3 separate regions of the Homo sapiens genome follow, and regions 2 and 3 are each linked to region 1. Evidence: promoter capture Hi-C in 16 types of primary human blood cells and fetal thymus (Javierre and others, 2016). All regions are on one chromosome and are shown on one strand. Each heading gives the region's core, a stretch centred on a gene start or on the middle of the fragment in contact. The rest is flanking DNA. Distances are from core to core; before and after follow the strand shown. Region 1 holds the start of UXT-AS1 (UXT antisense RNA 1). Region 2 holds the start of SLC38A5 (solute carrier family 38 member 5). Region 3 holds the start of PORCN (porcupine O-acyltransferase).

Region 1 (4,476 bases), core at 1,721-4,220:
TGATATAGAGCTTAGATGAGGAGGTTCACTGTTATGCGTACCACTGTCACTCAACACTTGATTTACAATGCAGTGACCTCCTTTAAATCCATAAATTCAGCCGGGTGAGGTGGCTCATGCCTGTAATCCCAGCGCCCTGGGAGGCCGAGGTGGGCAGATCACTTGAGGCCACAAGTTCGAGACCAGCCTGGCCAACATGGTGAAACCCTGTGTCTATTAAAAATACAAAAATTAGCTAGGCGGCATGGTAGTGTGTGCCCGTAGTCCTAGCTACTCCAGAGGCTGAAGCAGAAGAATCACTTGAAACCAGGAGGCAGAGGTTGCCATGAGCAGAGATCACACCACTACACTCCAGCCTTGGCAACAAAGTGAGACTCTGTCTCAAAAAAAATCTATAAATTCTACTTCTAGGAATTTATCACAAGGAAATAATCATGGCTCCGCACAAAAATTTGACAGCAAAGACTTATCCCATCCTGGTTATAACAACGAAAATATCTGAACACATTCAAATATCCAGTGACAGAGGAGTGGCTCAAAAATCTGAGGCCATCCAAAGAATGGAATGCTATGCAGCCATGTCAACAATTATCCTATGGTCTGGAAAGAAAGCAAATGTGATCAAATATTAACAACGAGTGAATCCAGGCCGGGCATGGTGGCTCACGCCTGTAATCCCAGCACCCTGGGAGGCCGAGTTAGGCGAACTGATTGAGCTCAGGCATTCGAGACCAGCCTGGGCAACATGGTGAAACCCCATTTCTACAAAAAATTAGCTGGGCATGGTGGCTCATGCCTGTAGTCCCAGCTATGCAGGAGGCTTAGGCGGGAGGATTGCTTGAGCCCGGTGGCAGAGGTTGCAGTGAACCGAGATCACACCACTGCATTCTAGCCTAGGCAAGAGAGCAAGACCCTGCCTCTAAAAAAATTTTAAAAATTCAAAATAAAACAACTGGCGAACTTAAGTGCAGGGTATATGAGTGTTCACTGTCAACTTTTCTGTAGGTTTGAAATGTAAAAATAAAGTTGGAAATACATTTTTAAGTAAAAAATTCTTTTTTGTGAAATATAAGTTAATAGACTTACACAGACTCATCTCCAGCCCATCAGAATTGTGTTCTCTGTTAAATAAATATGTGTCTTCTTTTCTCTCTTTTCACAGGAAAGTGGTATAGATTAACTAGATAATATTTTTCTACCTAGTATCTATTCCAATCACACTCAATGTAATTTAAACTATATGTAACATGAGATTTACAGACCAAAAAAACTAATCTCAATGTTTTCATTTTACAATTATCTCGTTCTAAGGGCAAAGAAAAGCTTAACTTGGCCAGGTGTGCTGGCTCATGCCTATAATCTCGGCATTTTGGGAGGCCGAGGTGGGCAAATCACTTAAGCCTAGGAGTTTGAGACCAGCCTGGGCAACATAGTGAGACTCTGTCTCTACAAAAACTTTTTTAAAAATTAGATGGGCGTGGTGGTGTATGCCAGTAGTCCCAGGTACTCCAGAGGCTGAAGCGGGAGGATCACTTGAGCCTGGGAGGTTGAGGCTGCAATGAGTCATGATCATACCACTGCACTCCAGCCTAGGGGACACAGACCCTGTCTAAAAAAGAAAAAAAAGAAAGAAAGAGAGAGAGAGAGAAAGAAAGAGAGAGAGAGAGAAAAGAAAGGAAGGAAGGAAGGAAGGAAGGGCTTAACTTGCTTGGGTTTTGAGCATTTGAAAAAAAAAACTTGCTTTTACATATGAAACACAAATTATCTGGGAAGACTTCCTTGGTAGGGGTGGGTGCTCTAGGCTCTACAGATGGAAATAGCATTTGGGGATTCATCCCATGGTCTGGATTCTTCTCCAGGCAAAGGCCCATTCTTGCTGGGTTATAAGTTCTTGTTTGAAAATCTAACCTGAAAAATAAATTCACTCAGTCACTCTAGTGCATAAGAATAAATTCACAAAAACCTTACCATTTAAATAAAAACATGGGAACTATGCCTAACTACAAGATGGCCAATCTTCGGCAGAGGACTTCAGCCACCCTCTCCATTTGACTATCAAACGAGGTGATTAGACAGAGAGTGTTGTCAATTTCCACTTGAGCCTCACTTATGGGTTGCGAGTGCAGAGCTGGAGTTATCAAAGATGAATTTTAGAAAACCTGTCTCTGTTTAAAACCTTTTAAATGCTTATACTCAGTCCCATTGCCAGGAGTGAAATCCAAACCTCCCGTGTGAAAAATCAATATCCAGGCCGACAGATCACACGGGATCTTCCTTATAGACCAGAACCATAGTCAATTTTTAGGTCCTTTTAAATATTAAACTCTTCACTTCCTCTACCTCCACCTGTGCGTCGCGCCTACCTTAGAACCCGCCAAATCCCATTAAATCCCACCCCCACCAGCCACACACGGTCTCCATAGGCTCCAGGCGCCGCTTTTGCAGTCCCCCATTGGCCGGTTTATTGCCAGACGGCCCCTGCTCGCACGCCCTAGTCTTCTTTGATCTCCTCGGATTCCGTGAAGCCCTGCCCTTCTCTTCTCCCCTTTGGCCCGTCTTCTTCCACTCAGGCCCGCCCCTCCCCAACTGGCTATTTGGTTGGCCAGCGCGCTTGCCACTTACGTCATTCACCCGCGCCACCCGGAAGCCGCGGTTCCTACCAACCGTTCTTATTGCTGGCGGCCTGAGGTAAAGGCCGCGCTTGGGTGTCCCTGGGTGGTCGGGTCCCCGAGTTGGGAGGGGCGGAAGGCTGAACCTCCAGCTTGAGCCGGACAAGCCGATTCCCAGCGTTGAGAGGGTAGAGATGAACTGTGTGTGAGGCCAAACTGGATCGGTCAACATGGTCTTCCCCCTCCCCACTCCCCAGGAGCCCATCATGGCGACGCCCCCTAAGCGGCGGGCGGTGGAGGCCACGGGGGAGAAAGTGCTGCGCTACGAGACCTTCATCAGTGACGTGCTGCAGCGGGACTTGCGGTGAGTGACAGTGCGGGGGGCGGGGCGTTTGGAACATTCCACGTGGTGGGTGGGGCGTTCAAAGTTAGGGCCAACCCTTTGAATTGGCGGGCGAGGCGTTCAGAGTCCGGCCCCGCGCTCCTTGGAGCGAGAAGTGGGGACGACATCCGGGGTGCAGTTTGGCTGGGACGTGGCGTTCATAGCAGGGGCGTGTCAGCGCATGCGCGGCCTCCGATGTTTAACAGATTAAGGCTTGTTTTCTGGAGCCACAGTTCTCGGGTTCGAATCCTGGCTCGGCCATTCTTCATCCTTGTGAATACGTCCTACCTCGCCTTTCTGTGCCCTATAAACTTTACTCTTCTGTGAAATGGGGAGTTTTCTGGAACCTTCCCCATGCAGTGGTTTTGAGTTTTTGATGTGTCCCATCTTTGTCAAGAATTTAGCATGGATGCCTGAAACATAGTAGAGGTTCAATGAGTATGAAGAAATATTATTGCAATCTTTGTTAATCTAAGCAGGAAATAAGGTGTTCAGAACTAGGCCTATGAGCATCCTAAAAGGGATGGAGGATTTTTCTAGGGTGAGGATGGGACATTATGATTGGAGTTCAGTATTGGGAGTATAATAATAGTAATTATAACTAACATGTATATAGAGAGTTTACCATTTGATAAGCATTATTCTAGATGCTTTGTAGTAAACGCTCATTTAATCCTAATGACTCTACAAGGTAATACTGTCATCTGTATTTTATAAATGGGGAAACTGAGTCCCAAACAGGTTATTTACTTGCCAAAGTCACACATCTATAAAGGATAGAGCCCAGATCCAAACCCAGGCAGTCTGACCCAGAGCCGAAAATTAACTTATGCACTAAAAAGCCTTTTCAGTGTATGGTGACATGAGAGTCTCAGAGGGTCATGATATGAGGTATACTAGGAGGAATGGGGCTGCCTATTGGTCACCATTGTACTTTCGTCCCATCAGAAAGGTGCTGGACCATCGAGACAAGGTATATGAGCAGCTGGCCAAATACCTTCAACTGAGAAATGTCATTGAGCGACTCCAGGTAAAGACTATGGGATTGGGTACCATTTTTTTGGTATGTGTGGGCAAGGGAGGGAAATGGGAAGAGAGACTCCAGACCCAACCCTGTCACCTGACCTAAGAGTTCACCACTGACCCCTACCTCTTTTTCCCTGGCCCCACAGGAAGCTAAGCACTCGGAGTTATATATGCAGGTGGATTTGGGCTGTAACTTCTTCGTTGACACAGTGGTGTGAGTGTCTACCCGCCCCTCTGAGCCCACAGGGTTCAGCTTACCCCTTCCCTCATGCAACTTATATTTTTTTGAGTATCTTCTATGTACCAGGCACTATGCGAGGTTTTATATCCCAGTAGGATATAAGCTAGGTGCTGGGGATGTGACAGTGAATAAAATAGGACAAAATCCCTGCCTTCCCAGAGCCTCAATTTGGGGAAGGGTGGGGAGCAAAACATAAACTATGCTAAACAGTGATAAGG
Region 2 (3,381 bases), core at 882-3,381, 810 kb before region 1:
TGTGTGTGAATATGCTGAGTGTATCTCACCTGCCCGTTCTCAGCCACAGCCACACGTATGTGAGCTGTGCCTGCGTCTTCCTATGTAACTTGCCTGGTGCTGCGTTCTGTCTATGGCCGCCTGCCAAACTTGTGCTTTTTTTTTTTTTTTTTTTTGAGATGGAGTCTCACTCTGTCGCTTGGGCCGGAGTGCAGTGGCGCGATCTTGGCTCACTGCAACCTCCGCCTTCCAGGTTCAAGCAATTCTCTTGCCTCAGCCTCCCGAGTAGCTGGGATTACAGGAACCCGCCACCACGCCCAGCTAATTTTTTTTGTATTTTTAGTAGAGACGGGGTTTCGCCACGTTGGCCAGGCTGGTCTCGAACTACTGACCTCATGATTCACTCACCTTGGCCTCCCAAAGTGCTGGGATTACAGGCATGAACCACTGCACCCGGCCCAACTCATACCTTTTTTTTTTTTTTTTTTTTGGCAACCGTGTGCATTGGTACTGTCTGTCGGTGCAGTTCATCTATATGTTGTTGTGTGTGTGTGTTGCTTGGGTGTTTGTCTCCTTTGTAATGGTCGTGGGTGACAAGTGTGTCAGAGTACTTGTCCCTCCTATATGTGTATCTATGCGCACGTATCTTTCTTTGTGTGTCTGCTGCTGTATTTGTGTCTCTTCTTAGCGAGTGGCTGCAGGTATGTGTGCCCTCGGGGTGTTTCTTCTGGTGCCATGGTATGAGTACTATCTGGTTCTCTTGTTTTTTCCTTGTGTAGCTTTCAGTGTGGTTTCTGGATTTTTTCTTTGCAACGATAGTAAGCGTACTCTGCATTCCTGTGCTTTGTGTTTGTGTGCAGGTATATGCTTTCCCTATATGTTTCTTTTCTGACTTGATTTGTGACTAGCTGTGTGTGTACACGGCTGTGTGCAGCCATTTGCTGAAATGCAGTTGTGTGTGTGTGTGTGTGTGAGAGAGAGAGAGAGAGGAGAGAGAGAGAGAAGGAGACTATGGCTTTTCTGTTTGTACAAAAATCATGTCAGCCTATGAGTGCCTCTCTCTGTGACTGGAGCTGTATGTGGTTACATGTGGTCACAAGTGCACATTCAAGTTCACATACACAGAGATATCATTTTAGGGCTTGAACCTGGAAGTTTGCCTCCAGGGTCATCTGAACCTGGATTCAGGTTCAGATCCAGGGCCATCTGAACCTGGATCGTGTGTGTGGGAAAGACCCAGGACCCACACACAATGTCATCAGCTGTGTGTAATTGTGTGCTCTGTGTGTGGCTGTGAATCTGTGTGTGTGATTTGCCTGTTGATTGTCTTTGGCATGGCTGTGGGTCCACGGGCGGTGAGGTTCAGGAGTCTCGAGTGTCTGGAAATCGGCACAAGCCTATCCCTGTGTTAGTCTGTGCTCTCTGTGAGCGGCTCTGAGCCTGTCGGTATTGATAGCTGTAAGACTATCGTCACTCTGTGTGGCCACGTGTGTGACTGTCCCATGAGCCATTGCTCTTAACGTGCAGTGGTGAGTCTGTGTGTGTTCATGTCTGTCAGTCTTTATTCTCTTGTGTGGCTGTGAGTCTTTGTGCACCTCTGTGAGTGATGGCGAGTTGGCCCCCGTATCTGAGCCCCTTGATGGGGCTGTGATGGGTCCTGTTGTGTAGCTGCGATTCCTGAGTGTGCAGGAGTCTCTCTCCCGCTGTGGGGAAGTAAACGCCCCATCCCTTGTCCTCCTCCAACTGTGGGTGGGGTGAGGGCATCTAGGCCAGCTTTGAAGCCCCAGCCAGCTCCTGGCCTTTCCGGGAATTCTGTGTTCCCTGTCGGGGGTGGGCAGGCGGGCGAGGGGCCCAGACAGAGGCCTCTTGTCCACCTGGGCTTCAAGCAGCCCAGTCGAGGTGGTCCCAGACCCCAAGTCCACCCTGCCTGACATCCTGTAGCGGACACGTGGCTTGCCTGGGACAGGCATGCCTGTCATATGCCTGGAGGGGAGTGAACAGACGGACTCCCATAGAAGACAGACGGACAGACAGATAGTGGGACTTCTCAGGGCTTGGACAAGCCCCACCCCACGCTTGGGGTGGGGTCCAGGACTACAGTGCCCGCCCAGTTTGCGGACAGTGTGAGTTCACAGTCCACATTCCCCACCCAGCCACAAATGCCCTCCCTGCCTCCCTCTGGGGGCCCCCAAGATCTAGGGTCCTCTCGTGCCTAGGCTGTCTGCCTGAGGTCTGCCTGGAATAGCCTGGCTACTACCCCTGCACCTGTTCCCCTGCTGTCCCCAGGCCTCTCTGCCTGAATCTGCCTCTCTCTGCCTCTTTTCTCCTGTCCCTCCAGGAGTCTCTCTGCCTCAACCACTCTCTCTGCCCCTTCATCTCTCTGAGCTGGTGTGTCTGGTCCTACCCTCTGTTTGGGGAGCTGTCTGGCTCTGTCCCCCACCTCTTGGCCAGCCTGTGTCTCCTGTCTATGACTGAGCCCAATTGCCTGTTGCCTTTCTGCAGGTGTTTCCACGAGCCTATCCCTACCCACCTGTTTGTTTCTGAGTCTGCCTGTGTGTCCCTTTCTCCCTGTCTCTGCCTGTCTTCCAAGCTCCCCTAGCATCCCCTCCTCCCGCCCATCTGTCTTTCTGTCCCTTCTGTGGTCTGTCTGTTCCTGTGCTGTTTCTCATGCCTGCTTTCTTTGTAACTTCAGTTCTCCTACTCTCTCTCTGTCTCCTCTCTGCACCTTTTTCTGCCATCCATCCCATCCTGCTGTCCGTCTGCTCTGTGAGTCCATCCCCTCTGTCTGCCTGTCACTCTCTCTAGCTGTGGGTCTACACCCTCAATCTTTCAGGCCATTTCCCCCACCATCAACACACAAACAAACCGCTGTCTCCCTCCAAGTGGGTCCAGATAGGGGGCGCCCCTTCTCCACCTCTTCCCCCGCCCAGGGCCAGAAGGAGGGAAACGAAATTAAAATTAACATTTCTTCTCAGGAAAAAAAAAAAAGTACCGCTCCAGAGCAGGAGCCTAGGCAGCCGAGAGGGTGCCCGAACCTGAGTCTGAGTTGCGGCCACTTCAGGAGCTGAGAGGAGCAGGTAGGTGAGGAGGGAGCGTGGGCTGCGGGGATGGTGTTCCTGGGGGCCTGAGATATGAGTAGGGGTCCTGGGAGGGGGCTCGGGGTTCCTTGGAGACATTTTAGCACTAGTGGGGAATGGAATGGCGTGTATGGGGAGGTCCTTTTTGTACCCTGATCCCAGGAAGTGAATTCAGGTGTGGGTGGGAGGCTCCGGAGGGTGCTGGTGGTGGGGGATGGGACTCCTTGAGACCCTCCCTGTCCCAGGAACGGGATTCAGGACTTGGGAAAAGGATTTCCTGAGCCAGTTTGAGCTCTAATGGGGACCTTGAATGGGGGTTTCTGAG
Region 3 (4,788 bases), core at 622-3,121, 850 kb before region 1:
GGGTACAGTGTCATGATGTCAGCAGGTTATTCAGGCAATTCAGGAAGATGATAGATAGATAGATGGATAGATAGATAGATAGATAGATGGATAGATATACAGATAGATAGATAGATAGACAGATAGAGCCAGCTAACGTGGCAAGATGTTGACAGAGAATCTGGTGATGCATACGTGGGTGCTCACTGTACTATTTTTTCAACATTTCAGTAGCTTTGAAAAATTTCAAAATAATAAACCTGGGAAAAAATAGAACATCCATTTAAAATTAAAAAAGAAAGAAAGAAAAAAGAAAGTGTAGAACCTTCGGATCTCAGATTTCCAGAAATCTCCGCCTCCTATAGGAATCTTGGGGACTTGGAATCTTTCATTAAGATACAGGCCTGCTATGACTGTGGAAACATTTCAGAATCCTAGAATCCAGAAATCGCATCATGCCCTGATTATAGAAATCCACAATGCCAACATTTTAGAAGTCTAGAATGTGAGAATTTCAAATTGTCAGAATCTCCAAACGCTGTAATCATGGTACTTTGGGATTCCATAACCCTGTGACATCAGCATGCCAATGTCTTATAACCTTGGGATGTAGACATTTCAGAATCCCAAGATCCAAGAATCTCAGCTTTCTGGAATCCCAGAACTCAGGAATACTGAAGGGCATGGCTTGGCATGGCAGGATGTGGCTCGGTGTGGCATGGCATGGGGTGGCTGGCATAGTAGGATGTGGTATGGTGGAATGGGGTTTGGCCTGGTGGGATGTGGTGGGGCTGAACATGTTGGGGTCCAGCTTGGACATGCTAGGGCCTGGCAGGATGTGACAGGGTAAGGTGTGGCTCGATATGGATGAATGTGGGAGGTCTGATATGGCCTGGCATGGTGGCACACGGTATGGCAGGCACTTACCGAGCCTCCAGAGGAGGCGGCAGGCGAGGCAGATGGCAAGGAGCAGCCAGATCTGGTCAAGGCCCTGCTGGGCAGTAGGCAGGAGACAGCCTTGCAGTAGCTGCTGGAAAAATTCCTGGCGGCTAAAGGTGGCCATTGCAGACCCCCACGGATGGATGGCCAGATGGATAGATCTGTCAAAGCAGGGACACAGAGGGAGCGGGTGTCCGTGGGGCAGACCTCGCTTAAAGGATGCACTCTGGCACTCACATTTCAGTTTGGGGCTGCCCAGCCCATGTAGAGGCACGGTACTGGAGGACTGGGGGAAGGCGTGAGAAGTCAGGTACATCAGACTGAGCCACCAACTGTGTGCATGTGGGTGTTCGGCATGCACACGCACAGCCTGTGACCTGGAGTGAATGAAGGACCTCTGTCTCTCCAGTGCTGTGAACAGTCCAGTCCGATGGTGATGGGATGGCATACATTTCAGGCCCATATATCAAATGGGGCGGGCGACGGGAAGGGGAATCCCTGGTTTCCAAGGTAGAGTCGCTCTGAGTGGAGGGCAGAGAGGGGGATTCTGTGACACTTGGGGGCCGTGTGCATCTCTCCTTGTATGGATGCGGCGGCACGGGGAGGGGGGGTGTCCTGTATCCTCCGCGCCCCCCATCTCATCCCCACCCGGCGAGAGGCCGCCAACAAAGTCCTGCCCAGGTCCGGGGGCTGCAAGGAGGTGGTGGTAGGAGACATAGCCTGAGGGAGAGTCGGAAAGGTGATGGGGAGGGGGTCCTAGCACTCGCGCTACAGATCCGCCTGGGGAGGCCGGCCCAGGGATGGGAGCTGGGGAGCCGCGTGCGCACTACTGGCGACCTACCTGGCAGGAAAGAAGCCGTGGTCCTGGGGACCGAGGACGCGCTGCCGCCGCCGCTGCCTCCTCCGGGCAGCCTCCCCCGCAGGCCGCAAGGCCGGGACCAGCAGCGGCTCCCAGAGCGGCGCGGCGAGCGGGCCCTTTAAATCCCGGGGCGGCCCGGCCGCCGGCTCGGCCAATGGGAGAGCAGGAGGGGGGCGGGGACGGGGACGCGGAGGAGGGGAGCAGGAGGATTGAGGGGAGACCGGCGCGGGGGGACGTCGGCGCGCAGGACGTTCACGCCCGCACCTTTCCGGCCTGTGGCGGTTTCAGCCCCAGACCGTCTGCCTCCGGAGGATTTCTGGCCATCCAAGAACAAACTTCCGAATCTCCAAATTTCCAAGCCTTGGAAGTGAGAAGGGAAAGATGGGGGAGGGAGGAGGGAAGCCGCTGCACCCCCAAATAGTCACCCGCGCACGTCCTCTAAATACCGTGGTGTCCCCGTTTCACAGATGGGAAAACAAACCGAGATCTCTCCTTCCCCAACCTTTGAGAGAACCGAAGTAACTCCCAACCCTCCCACCTCCTGGGACCGGCCAGGAACATTTATAAGTAATGACTGTGTCACCTAGGAACACAAATTAGGCGCCTGTGCTTCCCCTGGGGACGAGCTGTGAGCACTTGGCGTGTCGTCGTTGAGAAGTGATTTGCATGCTTAATTCCCCAGCAGACTCTTTGCTTCGAAGGTGACCCCAGCGACTAGTAAATGTTCTCTGTGAACTAGAGGGAGGCTAGTACCGAGCACTTAAAAGGGGGGCATTTATAAAGCTCTTAAGGGCCAGGCTCGGTGGCTCACGCCTATAAACCCAGCACTTCGGGAGGCCAAGGGTAGGAGGATAGCTTGAGGTCAGGAGTTCGAGACCAGCCTGGCCAACATGGCGAAACCCCGTCTCTACTAAAAATACAAAAATTAGCCAGGCGTGGTGGCGCACGCTTGTAATCCCAGCTACTCGGGAGGTTAAAGCAGGAGAATCAGGAGGCAGAGGTTGCAGTGAGCCAAGATCGCGTCATTGTGGGCTACAAGAGCGAAACTCCGTCTCAAAATAAATAAATAAAGACTGGGCGTGGTGGCTCACACCTGTAACCCAGCACTTTGGAAGGCCGAGGCGGATGGATCACCTGAGGTCATGAGTTTGAGACCAGGCTGGCCAATATGGCGAAACCCTGTCTCTACTAAAAATACAAAAAATTTAGCTGGGCGCCTGTAATCCCAGCTACTCCGGAGGCTGAGGCAGGAGAATCACTTGAGCCCAGGAGACGGAGGTTGCAGTGAGCCGAGATCACGCCATTGCACTCCAGCCTGGGTGACAAGAGCAAAACTCCTTCTCCAAAATAAATAAATAAATAAACAAGAGCGAAACTCCTTCTCTAAATAAATAAATAAATAAAATAAAAAAGAAAGCGCTTACACTGGCCCCATCCGCACCTCTATCTGCACCAACACTAAAGATTTATGTAGCACCCGCCTTCTACCTACCCTACTGCTGCAGTTTCTAGGCATTCCCCTTTGTACCTAGGCTGATGAAGGGCCTATTTTTCCAAAAGAGCACTTACTGGGCGCTTACTGCACTACATGCTTAGCTGTGACGTGGAAGGGAGAAGGAAGCCCAGGTCAAACTGGACGCCACCCTGACCTGGGCAGCCAACTGAAACAGATTTTAATCAGATTAACAATGGCCTGTATGGAGCTGGGCAAGTCATGTTCACTCACCCGTCTCCATTGTCCTTTTCTGTTAAACAAAAGAGTGGGCTTGGCAGGTTTTTGCTGGGAAACACCAATGGTAATTGAAGAGAAATGTATATTTTCTCTCTATTTTAACATGAAGTTAAATGGAGTTCTAGCTCATAAATTAGTATTCATGTATTACAAACAAAAAACATTTAATACGGTAAGAATATGTATATATAAGGAATAATAGCTTAGACCAGATGCACAAATATCAATTCTTTTCCTTAACAGCAGAATACAGGACATACATTTTATGAATTAAATTTCATTTTAATTTTTTTCTCAGTTGTCAAACCCACTCAAGTTGAGTCAACAATGACCCACAGCACCTACCAGAAATACTTCCCTCAATTGCAAGACTTGGCATTTAAAACTGGAAGATTCTTACCACATGTGCTCCTGGGCTTTGCGGACTTGATTGTTTCCATCTAGGCTTTTGACCTGTGTCACAAAGAAGTAGGATCTAGGTTTTAGGATATATAACGAACATCTACAAATCCGAAGAGGACAAACAATACACTTGGCAATAGACATTGGGTACAAATAGGTAATTCACAGCAGAAGAAACCTAAAATGGTCAATATGTATAATATATGAAAAGATAACCCAATCTCTTTACTGCTCAGGGAAATGTAAAATTAAAACAACAGTGAGATATAATACCATTTTACATCTACCAGATGTTGTGCTTCATATTTTTATCACTGGAGCTTAGTAGAGGGTGGACACTCAATAAATGTCTGTGGTCATTCTAGGTTGTGGTTTCTGGGGTGTTTTAGATGAGCTCTCCATAATTAAAGAGATACAAATTAAAAACAATGATATACTATTTTTCACTTATGGGACTGACAAAAATGCCAAGCCTTATAATGATAACATATTTGCTCTCTCTCTGTCTCTGTCCGTTTCTTTCTCCCCATGTATATACATATGTAATTTACATATATATAATTTTTCTGAATGATATACAGTGATTTTTCTGAATTATTTGTTAGTGGTTGCGGATATGACACCCTTTTAACTAAATACTTCAGTATGAATATCCTAAGAGCAAGGACTTTTTTTTCTTTTTTTACATTGCTACCAGCATAGTATGAGGTTTCCATTGCTCCACATCCTCACAAATACTTGTTATCTGACTTTTTGGTTCTAGCCACCCTGGTGGGCATGTCAATAGTGTCCTTGTATAGGAAAAGGGAATCATAGGGTCACAAGATACATTCTGTTATCAGGTTTTTTTAGTCTCCTCCAATGTGGAACAATGTCT

What was found. Contacts are between HindIII fragments. The CHiCAGO score rates a contact against its expected background, and 5 or more counts as called.
Region 2: the fragment with the promoter of SLC38A5 here is called in contact with the fragment with the promoter of UXT-AS1 in region 1 in 6 of 17 cell types (fetal thymus, naive B cells, total CD4 T cells and 3 more); the score reaches 9.2 in fetal thymus.
Region 3: a contact is called between the fragment with the promoter of PORCN here and the fragment with the promoter of UXT-AS1 in region 1, in 4 of 17 cell types (monocytes, M1 macrophages, total B cells and 1 more). The highest score is 6.5, in monocytes.

The regions. Positions count from the first base shown.
Region 1 is chrX:47,657,327-47,661,802 of GRCh38, reverse strand. It overlaps UXT-AS1 (UXT antisense RNA 1), which reads right to left and starts at 2,970. Exons shown (of 2, transcript NR_028119.1): 1 at 2,623-2,970; 2 at 1,692-1,908. It overlaps UXT (ubiquitously expressed prefoldin like chaperone), which reads left to right and starts at 2,623. Exons shown (of 7, transcript NM_004182.4): 1 at 2,623-2,688; 2 at 2,867-2,973; 3 at 3,940-4,021; 4 at 4,164-4,231. The coding sequence starts at 2,876. RefSeq lists silencers at 2,354-2,693, 2,972-3,051 and enhancers at 2,274-2,775, 2,532-2,791, 2,776-3,279. The HindIII fragment of the contact is 4,632 bases long and covers 1,326-4,476 here.
Region 2 is chrX:48,469,010-48,472,390 of GRCh38, reverse strand. It overlaps SLC38A5 (solute carrier family 38 member 5), which reads left to right and starts at 2,131. Exons shown (of 17, transcript NM_033518.4): 1 at 2,131-2,209; 2 at 2,955-3,056. The HindIII fragment of the contact is 10,592 bases long and covers 1-3,381 here.
Region 3 is chrX:48,506,075-48,510,862 of GRCh38, reverse strand. It overlaps PORCN (porcupine O-acyltransferase), which reads right to left and starts at 1,871. Exons shown (of 15, transcript NM_203475.3): 1 at 1,760-1,871; 2 at 907-1,079. The coding sequence starts at 1,042. It overlaps PORCN-DT (PORCN divergent transcript), which reads left to right and starts at 2,024. Exons shown (of 2, transcript NR_135596.1): 1 at 2,024-2,144; 2 at 3,808-4,337. RefSeq lists a silencer at 1,645-2,044. The HindIII fragment of the contact is 7,257 bases long and covers 1-4,788 here.